Regions from separate parts of the Homo sapiens genome. Here all the other regions are linked to region 2. The links are contacts of gene promoters, found by promoter capture Hi-C in blood cells and fetal thymus (Javierre and others, 2016). All regions are on one chromosome and are shown on one strand. The core of a region is centred on a gene start or on the middle of the fragment in contact, and the rest is flanking DNA. Distances in the headings are between cores, read along the strand shown.

Region 1 (2,700 bases), core at 93-2,592, 730 kb before region 2:
GCACACCCTTCCTGCCCCCGGCAAGCCAGGCCTGGGGCTGGAAGAGGCGGAGATGAATCAGACACGGTCCCTGCCCACGGAGAGCCCACAGTCTGCGGGAGGGGCAGGCGCGCACATAAATTACTTGCAACCCTGGGAGGCTGGGGCCAGTGTGTTTGTACAGGTATGAAAGCCGGGCCGGGCTGAAGTAGGGAAGGGAGAGTTATTTCTCCTAACAGAGTCAGGGTCAAGGAAGAAGCCAAAGACCCAGGCTGGACCACCCAGCTGCTTCGGCTCTCCTGGTCACTCCTCTGGCTGAAAAAGCTCCCAGGGCCTCTCCCTCCCTCCCCCTGCCAGCCTCAGGGTCTCAGTGGCCCCTCTCCTTCAGCGTCTGCACCCGACATTCATTCCTTTGGGGTTCTCTCTCCCAAGGCTGACTGAGAGTGGGATGTGCCCCCTCCTCCCTCCCCGGCTCCTCACCCTTCCTCACTGTGTCCGCAAATTCCTGTAAGTTTTACTGCTCTCCTACAGCAAAGCTGCCCTGAGGGGAGGTGGAGGCGGGCAGGAATAATGCAGTGACCCAGGCCAGTGGCTGTCAAGCCTTGCTGCACATTAAGAATCATCTGGGGCTGGGTGTAGTGGTTCACACCTGTAATCCCAGCACTTTGGGAGGCCGAGGTAGGTGGATCACGAGGTCAGGAGATCGAGACCATCCTGGCTAACACGGTGAAACCCCACCTCTACTAAAAATACAAAAAAATTAGCCAGGCATGGTGGTGGGCACCTGTAGTCCCAGCTACTCAGGAGGCTGAGGCAGGAGAATGGTGTGAACCCGGGAGGTGGAGCTTGCAGTTAGCTGAGATCACGCCACTGCACTCAAGCCTGGGTGACAGAGTGAGGCTCTGTCTCAAAAAAAAAAAAATCATCTGGGGGCCGGGCATAGTGGCTCACACCTGTAATTCCAGCATTCTGGGAGGCTGAGGCGGGTAGATCACGAGGTCAGGAGTTCGAGACCAGCCTGACCAACATGGTGAAATCCTATCTCTACTAAAAATAGAAAAATTAGCCGGGCGTGGTGGCACATGCCTGTAATCCCAGCTACTCAGGAGGCTGAGGGAGGAGAATCACTTGAACCCAGGAGGCAGAAGTTGCAGTGAGCCAAGATTGCACCACTGCACTCCAGCCTGGGTGACAGAGCAAGACTGTCTCAAAAAAGAAAAAAAAATCATCTGGGAAGCTTTAAAAATCCAGATGACCAGGCCATATCTCATACTAGTTCACAGGGAGCTCGGAGTAAGCGGGGGGAGGCAGATGGTAATATTTGTCGAAACTTCCAAGGTGACGCCAATGTACAGCAAGTTTGAGAGACAGGGGGCAGGGACTCGGTACTCAGTGTGCAGCATGTTAGAGGACAAGCCTCCTGCACCCACCCTCAACTCTATGAAGCAGAATCTGCTCTCTGAGATGATCCCTGATGATTTGGGTGCAATAAAGCTTGAGAAGCACTGATCCTTGTTAAAGAGTTTCGCTAGCGTCCTCAGAGGCATGCTGGTGTCCAGTTCCCACGGCCTCTGAAATGGGGCCCCTAAGGAGACTGGCTTCTAAGCAGGCAGCCACCATAAGCTAACCACTGAGAAGGGCTGGCTTCTATGGGAGACTCCAGGCAGGCCACAAGGCAGCCGCCACCATGACTCAGTGAGCTTGACAGGGCCATTCCATGGAGGGAGCTGAATTAGGATGACCCTCACAGCTCCCAAGGCTGGACCAGAAGGCAGGAGCCCCATGCAGTCCTGTGCTGATGAAGACCCATTTTTTTCTAGGAGATTTACACTTTCATATGTATCCCCTGTGACCAGCCCACACACCTGGCTGAGAGATGGCTCTGCAGGGAGGGAGTCAGCAGGAGGGGAGGGGAGGGAAGAGGAGGGGAGGAAAGATATCTTGGGAGGCCAAGGAAAGATAAGTGAAGAAACCACCTAAGAGGGCAAATGCAGGGCTCAGTGGGAGGGGCCCAGAGATGTCCTGAGGAGCCCTGGTGGCATCTGCCTTGACACCAGGTCCACTGCAGACAGTCGCAATTTCATCCATCCATTCATCTATCAGATATTGAGTGAGGGCCTACTAGGTACCAGGCCCACTGCAGACAGTCGCAATTTCATCCATCCATTCATCTATCAGATACTGATTGAGGGCCTACTAGGTACCAGGTCCTGAGGATATAGCCCTGAACAAAGCAGATAACAGTCCCTGCCCTCATGGAGCTTATATTCCAGTGGTACAAACAAAACAGTAAACCAGACAAGTAAAAACAAAGCGTCCGGCATGCTAGATAATGATGGGTGCTAAAGAGAAAACATGAAGCAGGAGACAGAATAAGAAATATTGGGAGGAGGTGGAATTTTAGATGGAGTGACCGGGGATGACTCCACTGAAAAGGTGACTTTTGAAGAAAGAATGAAGGTAGCAAGAGTTTGCCATATGAATATCTGTGGGAAGGGCCCTCTAAGCAGAAGGAACAGCAAGTGCAAAGGCCCTGGGGCAGGAGTGTGGGAGGTGTGTGGCTAGGACAGCCAGGAGGCCTATGTGGCTGGAGAGAAGCCAGGGTGGGGAGAGGGGAGAGAAGGCCAGGGAGGGAAGTGGGGAGTGGGAGATAGGTCAGGACTTTGGCCTCTACTCTGAGTGTGCACAGGAGGGACGTGTCCTGACTCCAATTTTCACAGG
Region 2 (2,700 bases), core at 172-2,671:
GGCCCTGCCTCCCTCAAAGGTCCACTGTCAAGACTATATAATGGGAGTAACTTCCTGTCAATTTTAAGATATAGAAAAAAAAACCTCAAATATTTGCATTAATCCTATAGACTCATATTCTTTTTTCCCATTTTTTTCCAAAAAACTAATGACTCACTTCACCCTCTATACAAAGAAACAGAAATGAAGCAAAACTTTTTGGATTTCAAAGGTCAGCACTTTTGAAAGGGAAGGAACCCGGCCGCTGGTTCACGCCTGTAATCCCAGCACTTTGGGAGGCTGAGGCAGGTGGATCACCTGAGGTCAGGAGTTCGAGACCGGCCTGGCCAACATGGTTAAACACCCATCTCTACTAAAAATACAAAAATTAGCCGGGCGTGGTGGCGCGCGCCTGTAATCTCAGCTACTTGGGAGGCTGAGGTGGGAGAATGGCTTGAACTCGGGAGGCAGAGGTTGCAGTGAGCCAAGACTGCGCCACTGCACTCCAGCCTGGGCAACAGGGCGTGACTGTGTATCGAGGAAAAAAAAAAAAAAGAAAAGAAAAGAAAGGGAAGGAACCTGGTACTGAGTTAAGAGTTCTGGATTTTAGGTCAAGATCATTCACTGAATCGCTGAGTGACCTTTGGCCAGCCTTCCCAAGAAGGCTGTTTCTTCCTTCTAGAACTATGGTTCTGTTTCTCTGTTTCTCTGTCTGCAAAAACGAGGGAGTTCCTCTAGGGATAATTACTTGAGCTCTTTCAGCTCAAACATTCTTTTTTTTGAGATGGAGTCTTGCTCTGTCACTCAAGCTGGAGTGCAGTGTCGCGATCTCGGCTCACTGCAACCTCCGCCTCCTGGATTCAAGCAATCCTCCCACCTTAGCCTCCCGAGGAGCTGGGATTACAGGCGCCCGCCACCACGAACTCCTGACCCCAAATGATCCGCCCGCCTCGGCTTCACAAAGTGCTGGGTGGGATTACAGGTGTGAGCCAACGCGCCCGGCAGCTCAAACATTCTTCAAGCTGGGAGAACCAGGATGATTAAACACGCGCGCCGGCCACCACGTGCACTTCAGTGCCCGGACCCTGACCCGCAGACCTCAAACCGCGCATATGCCCGTCGCCTTCAACGCGCACCCTCCTTGCTCCCCGCTACCGTTCAGCTCAGTTCGAAGGCCCCGATGACCCCTTAGAGTTAAGGGGTGCCCGTCGGTGAGCTCCCCGCTGGTCTCACAGTCACAGCCCGGGAGACACTCACTGACTCGCAGGAGGGCCACGTAGATGAGAAAGTTCCGTATGGAGGAGATCACATCCTCGCGCATCTTCCGTTTCATCTCCTCCGGGTCCAGCTTCGGCGCGAGGCCCTCAATCCGGAACATCGCGGCTCTGACTTAGCAGCTTCCAGCCGCCGCGCTCTGCTCTCCACGGTGGCCGCCTCGCGCCCGGAACTCGGCCTATCCTCACTTCCTGTTCCCGCCCTCTCGTTGCCACACTCGACGATGGATGCCTGCACGGGACAATCCACGTCCTGACCCAGCTGATCTGAAGTGCGGTGTGAAGCGGGCGGCCGCAAGCTCAGCAACGCAGGCTCTGGTTTCTCCACGCTGTCTTTAATAACATCTGTCATACAAAAATCAGCCCGGCTCGGTGGCGCGTGCTTACAATCCCAGCTACTCGGGAGGCTGAGGCAGGAAAATCGCTTGAACCCAGGAGGGGGATGTTGCAGTTAGCCGAGATCGCGCCACTGCGCTCCAGCCTGGGCGACAGAGCGAGCGAGACTCCGTCTCAAAATAATAATAATAATAATAATAATAACAACAACAATAACATCTATCTTGAGCCTGGAGCGCTGCGCTGTAAAGTGCTTTTACGCGCTGGAGGGGGCTGTGCACATAGGTACCACTGTAAACAGTGATAACTAACATTTATTGAATATTCAATATAATTGTCCCCCGTGAATTCGATATTATAATCTTCGTTTCCTAGATTAGACAATTGAAGCACAGAGATCTTTAAAACATCTTGCCCAAATGTGCTTTAATTTTTATTTATTTTTTTATTGCTAATTGTGGTGGTTGAGACTGTTCTGGAACTCCTGGGTTCCAGGATCCAAGCGATCCTCCCGCCTCGGCCTCCCAAAGTGCTGGGATTACAGGCGTGAGCTATCGCGCCTGGCCCCCAAATGTGCTTAAAAATACCTCAGAGGGGGAAAAAAGTATTGAGAGAGATAAGTGATGTCAGCAAAATATTAAAAACTGCTGGTGACTAGTACTTCATTTTAGTTAATTATTCTAGTCTTTCTTGAGTATGTTTGAAACTTTACATAAGTTAAAACAAAGAGACAAAGATGAAACTTTTTTTTTTTTTTTTTTTTTTTTGGAGACAGAGTCTCGCTCTGCCGCCCAGGCTGGAGTGCAGTGGCGCAATTTCAGCTCACTGCAACCGCTGCTTCCCAGGTTCAAGTGATTCTCCTGCCTCAGCCTCCTGAGTAGCTGGGATTACGGTTGCGCAGCACCACGCCTGGCTAAATTTTGTATTTTTTGTAGAGACGCGGTTTCACCATGTTGGCCAGGCTGGTCTTGGAAACTCCTGATCTCAGGTGATCTGCCCACCTCGGCCCCCAAAAGTGCCGTGATTACAGGCATGAGCCACCGCACCTGGCCTTTTTACAGATTATTGAAGCACAGAGGTCTTTAAAATACTGTTAGCCAAGTAACACAAT
Region 3 (2,700 bases), core at 9-2,508, 770 kb after region 2:
CTAAAATTCACCAGCTTGAGGTATACAGATCTGTGAAACACACACAGCCTTTAACCACCACCATAATCAAGACATAGCATATTTCCATCACCCCAAGTGCTGCTTCCTGCCTCTTTGTAATCAGACCCCTCTTTCCACCCCAACTCCTACAATCCTGGTCTATTTTATGTCCCTTTAGTTTTATCTTTTCCAGGACATCATAAATGGAAGCATAGATGGCCTTTTAATTCTTTTTTAAATTAAGGTATTCTTTACATATACTAAAATGAGGTATTATTTGCATGTTGTATTTACATATAATTTACATATAATACAATGTATGCTTTTTGGTATACAGTTCTGTGAGTTTTGACACATACAGTCATGTGACCACTACATCAATCAAGATACAGAGCCATGCTATCACCTCAAAAAATTCCCTTATGCATGTGCCTCCATCGACATCCTTCTCCCCATCCTGGCAATCAATCATCTATTTTCTGATCCTATAATTTTGCCTTTTCCAGAATGTCATATAAATAGCGGACTACAGTATGAAGCCTTTTGAGTCTTCCTTTTTATTGCTGAGCAGTATTCCATTGCATAAATGCACCACAGTTTGCTTATTTATTCACCAGTTGAAAGACATTTAGTTTATTTCCCAATGTGGCAATTATGAATTATTCTTTGTGTTCACGGCTGAATTTGCTTTGATAATATTTTGTTGAGGATTTTTGCATCTATATTCATAAAGAATTTTAGACTGTAGTTTTCTCCTTTTTTTGGAGAGTCTTTGTCTGCTTTTGGTATCAGGGAAATGTCAGCCTTATAAAATGAGAAGTGTTTCCTCCTCTTCTATTTTCTGTAAGAGTTTGTGTAGAACTGGCATTATTTCTTCCTCAAATGACTTGGTATTAGAATTCACCAGTAAAGCCATCTGAGTCTGGAGTTCCCTTTGTTGGAAGCTTTTCAATCTTAAATTCAATTTGTTTAATAGATATAGGGTTATTGTTGTTATCTATTTCTTCCTGAGTGAAGCTTGGGTAGTTTGCATCTTCCAAAGGATTTGTCCATTTCATCTAAGCTATTAAATTTGATTATTATAAAGTTAAGGAGAAGTCAGTACTGAAATAACCAAACACATGAGTGAATGGCTCACCTAAGAAGACCATAGAGAAAAAAGAACAGAGATTCTGGGTTTAAAAATTACTTGAAATTCATGAAAAACTTTATGCTTTTTTGAAATGAAACAGTTTATTTAAAAGTACAATTATGCACAAGGATGTAAAGCAAAGTCTTAATATAAAAAATTGGAAACCACATAAATGTCAAGGAAAGCAAATATGGTATATTCACTTGATGGAATATATGTTATTCAAATTGTGTCAAAATATGCACAGCAAAATCTAGAGAGAAATACACCCAAATAGTAGTAGTTTTTGAGGTTTTGAGTCTATGGAGTTGCTTATTTCTTCTTTTCTATATCCTTCAATAATACTTTAGTAATATCTTGATTGATTATAAGCTTTCTTTGACTCATTTTTCTACAAATTCATTTTTTAGGTCATCAAAATTTATACTTCTAACCCCATTTTTCAGTGGACACAACTGAAAATAACGTTAGTCACTCAATAGCACATTCTCCTGCTGGTGGTCACCCTTGGAAAGGAAGCAGCTCATCATTCAGTCTCTCCTAGGTACCTGGCTTGATGATATTGCTGCAGGGCAAAGAGCTCACTCGCCATCAAGGGTGGTTTGTTTGCAGTGTAGCCACATCTCCTCTCTCCTGGGGCCTGACTCCTGCCACCACTGCCACCAATATGAGCCCAGGTCCTGGGCCTGGCCACCCCTCAGGGTCCTACCACACCCTGGACACACCCCAAGTGTAGTGTGTATGCACTTCAGGTGGCAAGGCCAACTGCTTGATCTGCACAGTGTACACTGTCCCTGCAGACCTGAGCCCACGCATGCATGCCTTACCACCTGGCATATATCCTCTGCTCACGTGCAGGCTCCATTGTACTATCAGACTTCACTACAAAGCAGGTTGAAGGGTAAAATTATTAAGAATTTTTTTTTTCTTTTGAGACCAGGTCTCACTCTGTTGCCCAGGCTGGAATGTAGTGGCATGATCTCAGCTCACTGCAACCTCCGCCTTCTGGGTTCAAGTGATTCTCCTGCTTCAGCCTCTCAAGTAGCTGGGAATACAGGCGTGCGCCATCGTGCCTGGTTAATTTTTGTGTTTTTAGTAGAGACGGGGTTTCACCACATTGGCCAGGATGGTCTCAAACTCCTGACCTCAGGTGATCCGCCGACCTTGGCCTCCCAAAGTGCTGGGATTACAGGTGTGAGCCACCATGCCTGGCCAAATTACTAGGAATTTCAAGACAGCCACAGTAGAGCATAAAAATCAAGTGCCTGTACAACTGCAGAGGTCTCATACCTGTAAAGCCAGCCTGGAGCAAGAACACGGAGGCCTGGGCAGCAGAGGCTGAATGTGGAGTAGTGTCATCCCTTAGAAGTCAGAGTGGGCACAGTGGGTGGGCAGGTCCAGTGATTGATAGTCCTAGGATGCCTACCAAACATACAAATACACACCATCTTTACCACAGTGTAATTTCTGTTGTAGAAAGTAATAAGAAATAAAAAAAAAAAACCACCATGAAGGCAGATACTATTTCTCAGTTTAATTTATAGCTAAAGTCCCAGGGCCTAGTCTAG
Region 4 (2,910 bases), core at 9-2,508, 700 kb after region 2:
AGAAGCATGTCACAGTAACCATGTCCAAAAAGATCCCAGTCAAGGCAGTGGGGTAAGGAAGTATTCCCTCTGCATTTTCTTGTTCTCTATGTGGACTTCTGGTAGCCACCATCCTGTGCCCACAGCCCCACAGAGAGGGCCTGGAGGGTACAGTAGAACCCTTGGACAGACCAGCACTGACATTTCAGGGTGGAATTATCAGGGCTCTCCCTTTAGTCCTTGTTGGGATCACTGCCAAGTCCCTTTCTCTGGTGTCAGCCTCTGGCCCTCTCTGTCATTTGTACTGTTGACCACTCACCACTACCAGAGTCCATATCCTCCCTTGCTCCTGGGACTCCACAGTATCCAAATGTACTCTCTTTTTCTGGCTGTTTTATCTCTGCAGACACGTTTTCCTCAGCCTATTCCTTGAAGATTGGTGTTCTCCAGGACCATCTTCTTTTCTATCTATCCTCTCTCTCTCTCACTTTCTCTATCATTTATCCTCTATCAATATCTTCTATCATCTATCAATATCATCTATCATATATTCATCCATCTATTATCTGTCTATATAATCTATCCGTTCATCCATCATCTAGTATCTATATCAGCTATCATCCATCTATATTATCTATGTCTATCTATTATTTACCTACCCATTCATTTATTATCTATCTATTCATTTATTCATTCATTCATCTCTATCACCTGTCTATCCATTCGTCTATCAATCAATCAACATCTGTCTATTCATCTATTTATCATCTATCATCTATCTATCTATCTATCTATCTATCTATCTATCTATCTATCTATCTAATCTATCCACTCCCTGCACCATCTTGCCCACCCTCGTGTCTTCCATTAACCCCATGTGATGACTCTCCAGAGTGCCAGATGTATTAATCCACCTACCTACGTAACTTCTCCACTTGATGCCCTGCAGGGATTTTTCTCACATAATGAGTCTAGAAGCAGGCAGTGTCTTGCATTGACTCAGCAGCTTAAGCATGTCCTAGCTGAAGTCTCTGGTTCTCTTAGCCTTTCCCTTGTGGTTGCAAGAAGGCAGCTGTAGCACTGGCCATCTCATCTGCATTCTAGACAGGAAGAAAAAAGACATGGAGAAGGGCAAAAAGACACCACTGGTTTAGAAGCCTCTTCTAAAGCGTCTTCCAAGAAGCTCCGCCCAACTGCTTCCCCTTTCATCTCCTTGGACGCTCCTACCTTCAGAGGGGCAGTGTCTTATCTGCATCTAGTTTTAGTGAGCACACTGCCATCCCCATTGTGGAAACAATAGGGAACAAGAGGAGACATCTCCCTAGACTTCTCAACCCTCTCCCCTGACTGCATCAGGCTTCTCCCACAGCCCCCTACCTGCCTGTACCCCTATCCCTCTTGGCCCCTCTGATGGGCTCCCATCCAGAGCCAGAATGATCTTTCTAGCATGAGACCCTGGTTCTAACACCCTCAGCAGCTGCTTCATCAGGGGTCTGCACCTAGATGCCCCTAGATAAAACTCACTGACCCACAGGATAAAGTTCTCAGCCTAACCTTTAAGATCCTGGAGAATCAGTATAATCTCCAGAAACTGAAAGTTCTATTTCTTTGCTGCAATGCTCCTCGTGGGTTTCAGAAAAGTGCAGGCATCCTTGAGGGGGAAGGGTGGCTGACAACAGAGGATTTAAAAAACAAACACATTAGCTCTGGCCTGCCCAGATAATGAATAGAGGAGAAGGTTATCTATCTCACTGATTTATGTTGTTACGGTTTCTTCCATAGACCAAAGTGGGAGCATCTTTACATCTCCCGCCTTCCACATTTGCTGTGGCAAGGAAATCACATTTTCCATCAACCCTGGGAATTACTGAACGGCAGTGCTTTTATTTGTTAAGGATTGAACTTGGCCATTTCTTCTATCAGGGGCTGAGTCCTGCTGTTATGCATAACTTCTCATCCAGAGAGACACCATGGAGAATAAATCAGGACTGGGACTCAGTGTGACAGCCACATTCTGGCAGGGCTCTGGGGTCTGGGGGCTAATAGGGTTTCACTGCAGGGAGAAACTGCTTCCAACTGGGCTGGGGAGAGGAGGTGAGGCTGAGACTTTGAAAAATGAGTGGAAAAAATTTTGCCACTTCATAAAACCAGTGTCAGTGGGTGAAACATAAACCATCCAGAGACTATGAGAGCTGGCAAGGCCTTTGGGGAGTTTAGGGCCTCTTAATCTGTGGCTGGGTTTTATGGGGTCTGTGAACCCATGAAATTATGTGTAAACGTTTCTGTGCATGTGTGCATTTCCAGCACACACAAAGGGGTTACAGTTCATTGCTTTCATCAATTCTCAAAGGTCAAGAACTGATCTGGCATGACCCTCTCGTCATGAAGAAAAGAAAACTGTGGGGTCTTTGGGATAGAAGAGACCAGCCAAGTTCCACTGGTAGGAAAGAGGCAGAACTGGGATTAGGAATTTGCAGACTCAGGTTCCAATTTGGCCTGGCCGGATCCCGGCTGTGTGACTTTGGGCTGGTTACCTTATTGCTCTGGTGTTTTATTACACACACATTTAAGGAGATGTCAAGGGGATTTTAAAAGGGAATTAATGACTTCAATACCTACTTACAGGAGGTGTGGAGCTGGTGCTCCATAAGTATTTTTTTAATCACCGAATAATGTTGAAAATCATTCTTTTCAACTATCATCTATTCAGCAAATATTTGTTGACTACCTCTTATATACCACATGCTGAGTGAACAAAGTAGGCACAGTCCCTGCCCTGGCAGAGTGGGAATTAAGAAGGGGCAGCAGTTAAGAAAACAGACCATTGTTATTGCTGTAACAATGAGCTATTACACTGTTGATGTAACCCTTGTAATGCAGTGTGATGAATGTCATAACAGGGTCAGCATAGGAACCTGCGAGAGCACAGGG

What was found. Contacts are between HindIII fragments. The CHiCAGO score rates a contact against its expected background, and 5 or more counts as called.
Region 1: a contact is called between a fragment that was not itself captured here and the fragment with the promoter of TOMM5 in region 2, in 1 of 17 cell types (naive B cells). The highest score is 5.1, in naive B cells.
Region 3: a fragment that was not itself captured here is called in contact with the fragment with the promoter of TOMM5 in region 2 in 1 of 17 cell types (M2 macrophages); the score reaches 6.4 in M2 macrophages.
Region 4: a contact is called between a fragment that was not itself captured here and the fragment with the promoter of TOMM5 in region 2, in 1 of 17 cell types (M2 macrophages). The highest score is 5.9, in M2 macrophages.

Annotation. Positions count from the first base shown.
Region 1 is chr9:36,859,147-36,861,846 of GRCh38, forward strand. All of the region lies in intron 8 of PAX5 (paired box 5), which reads right to left. Among named protein-coding and RNA genes, the nearest start is that of MIR4540, 3.8 kb to the right of the region's middle. The HindIII fragment of the contact is 257 bases long and covers 1,215-1,471 here.
Region 2 is chr9:37,591,176-37,593,875 of GRCh38, forward strand. It overlaps TOMM5 (translocase of outer mitochondrial membrane 5), which reads right to left and starts at 1,422. Exons shown (of 2, transcript NM_001001790.3): 1 at 1,237-1,422. The coding sequence starts at 1,357. RefSeq lists an enhancer at 1,019-1,778. The HindIII fragment of the contact is 19,627 bases long and covers 1-2,700 here.
Region 3 is chr9:38,365,301-38,368,000 of GRCh38, forward strand. The region is part of intron 1 of LOC107987065 (a long non-coding RNA gene); the gene reads left to right. It overlaps LOC105376040 (a long non-coding RNA gene), which reads right to left. Exons shown (of 4, transcript XR_929605.1): 3 at 2,423-2,554. Among named protein-coding and RNA genes, the nearest start is that of ALDH1B1, 26 kb to the right of the region's middle. The HindIII fragment of the contact is 487 bases long and covers 1,016-1,502 here.
Region 4 is chr9:38,295,008-38,297,917 of GRCh38, forward strand. No RefSeq gene overlaps it. Among named protein-coding and RNA genes, the nearest start is that of ALDH1B1, 96 kb to the right of the region's middle. The HindIII fragment of the contact is 3,642 bases long and covers 1-2,910 here.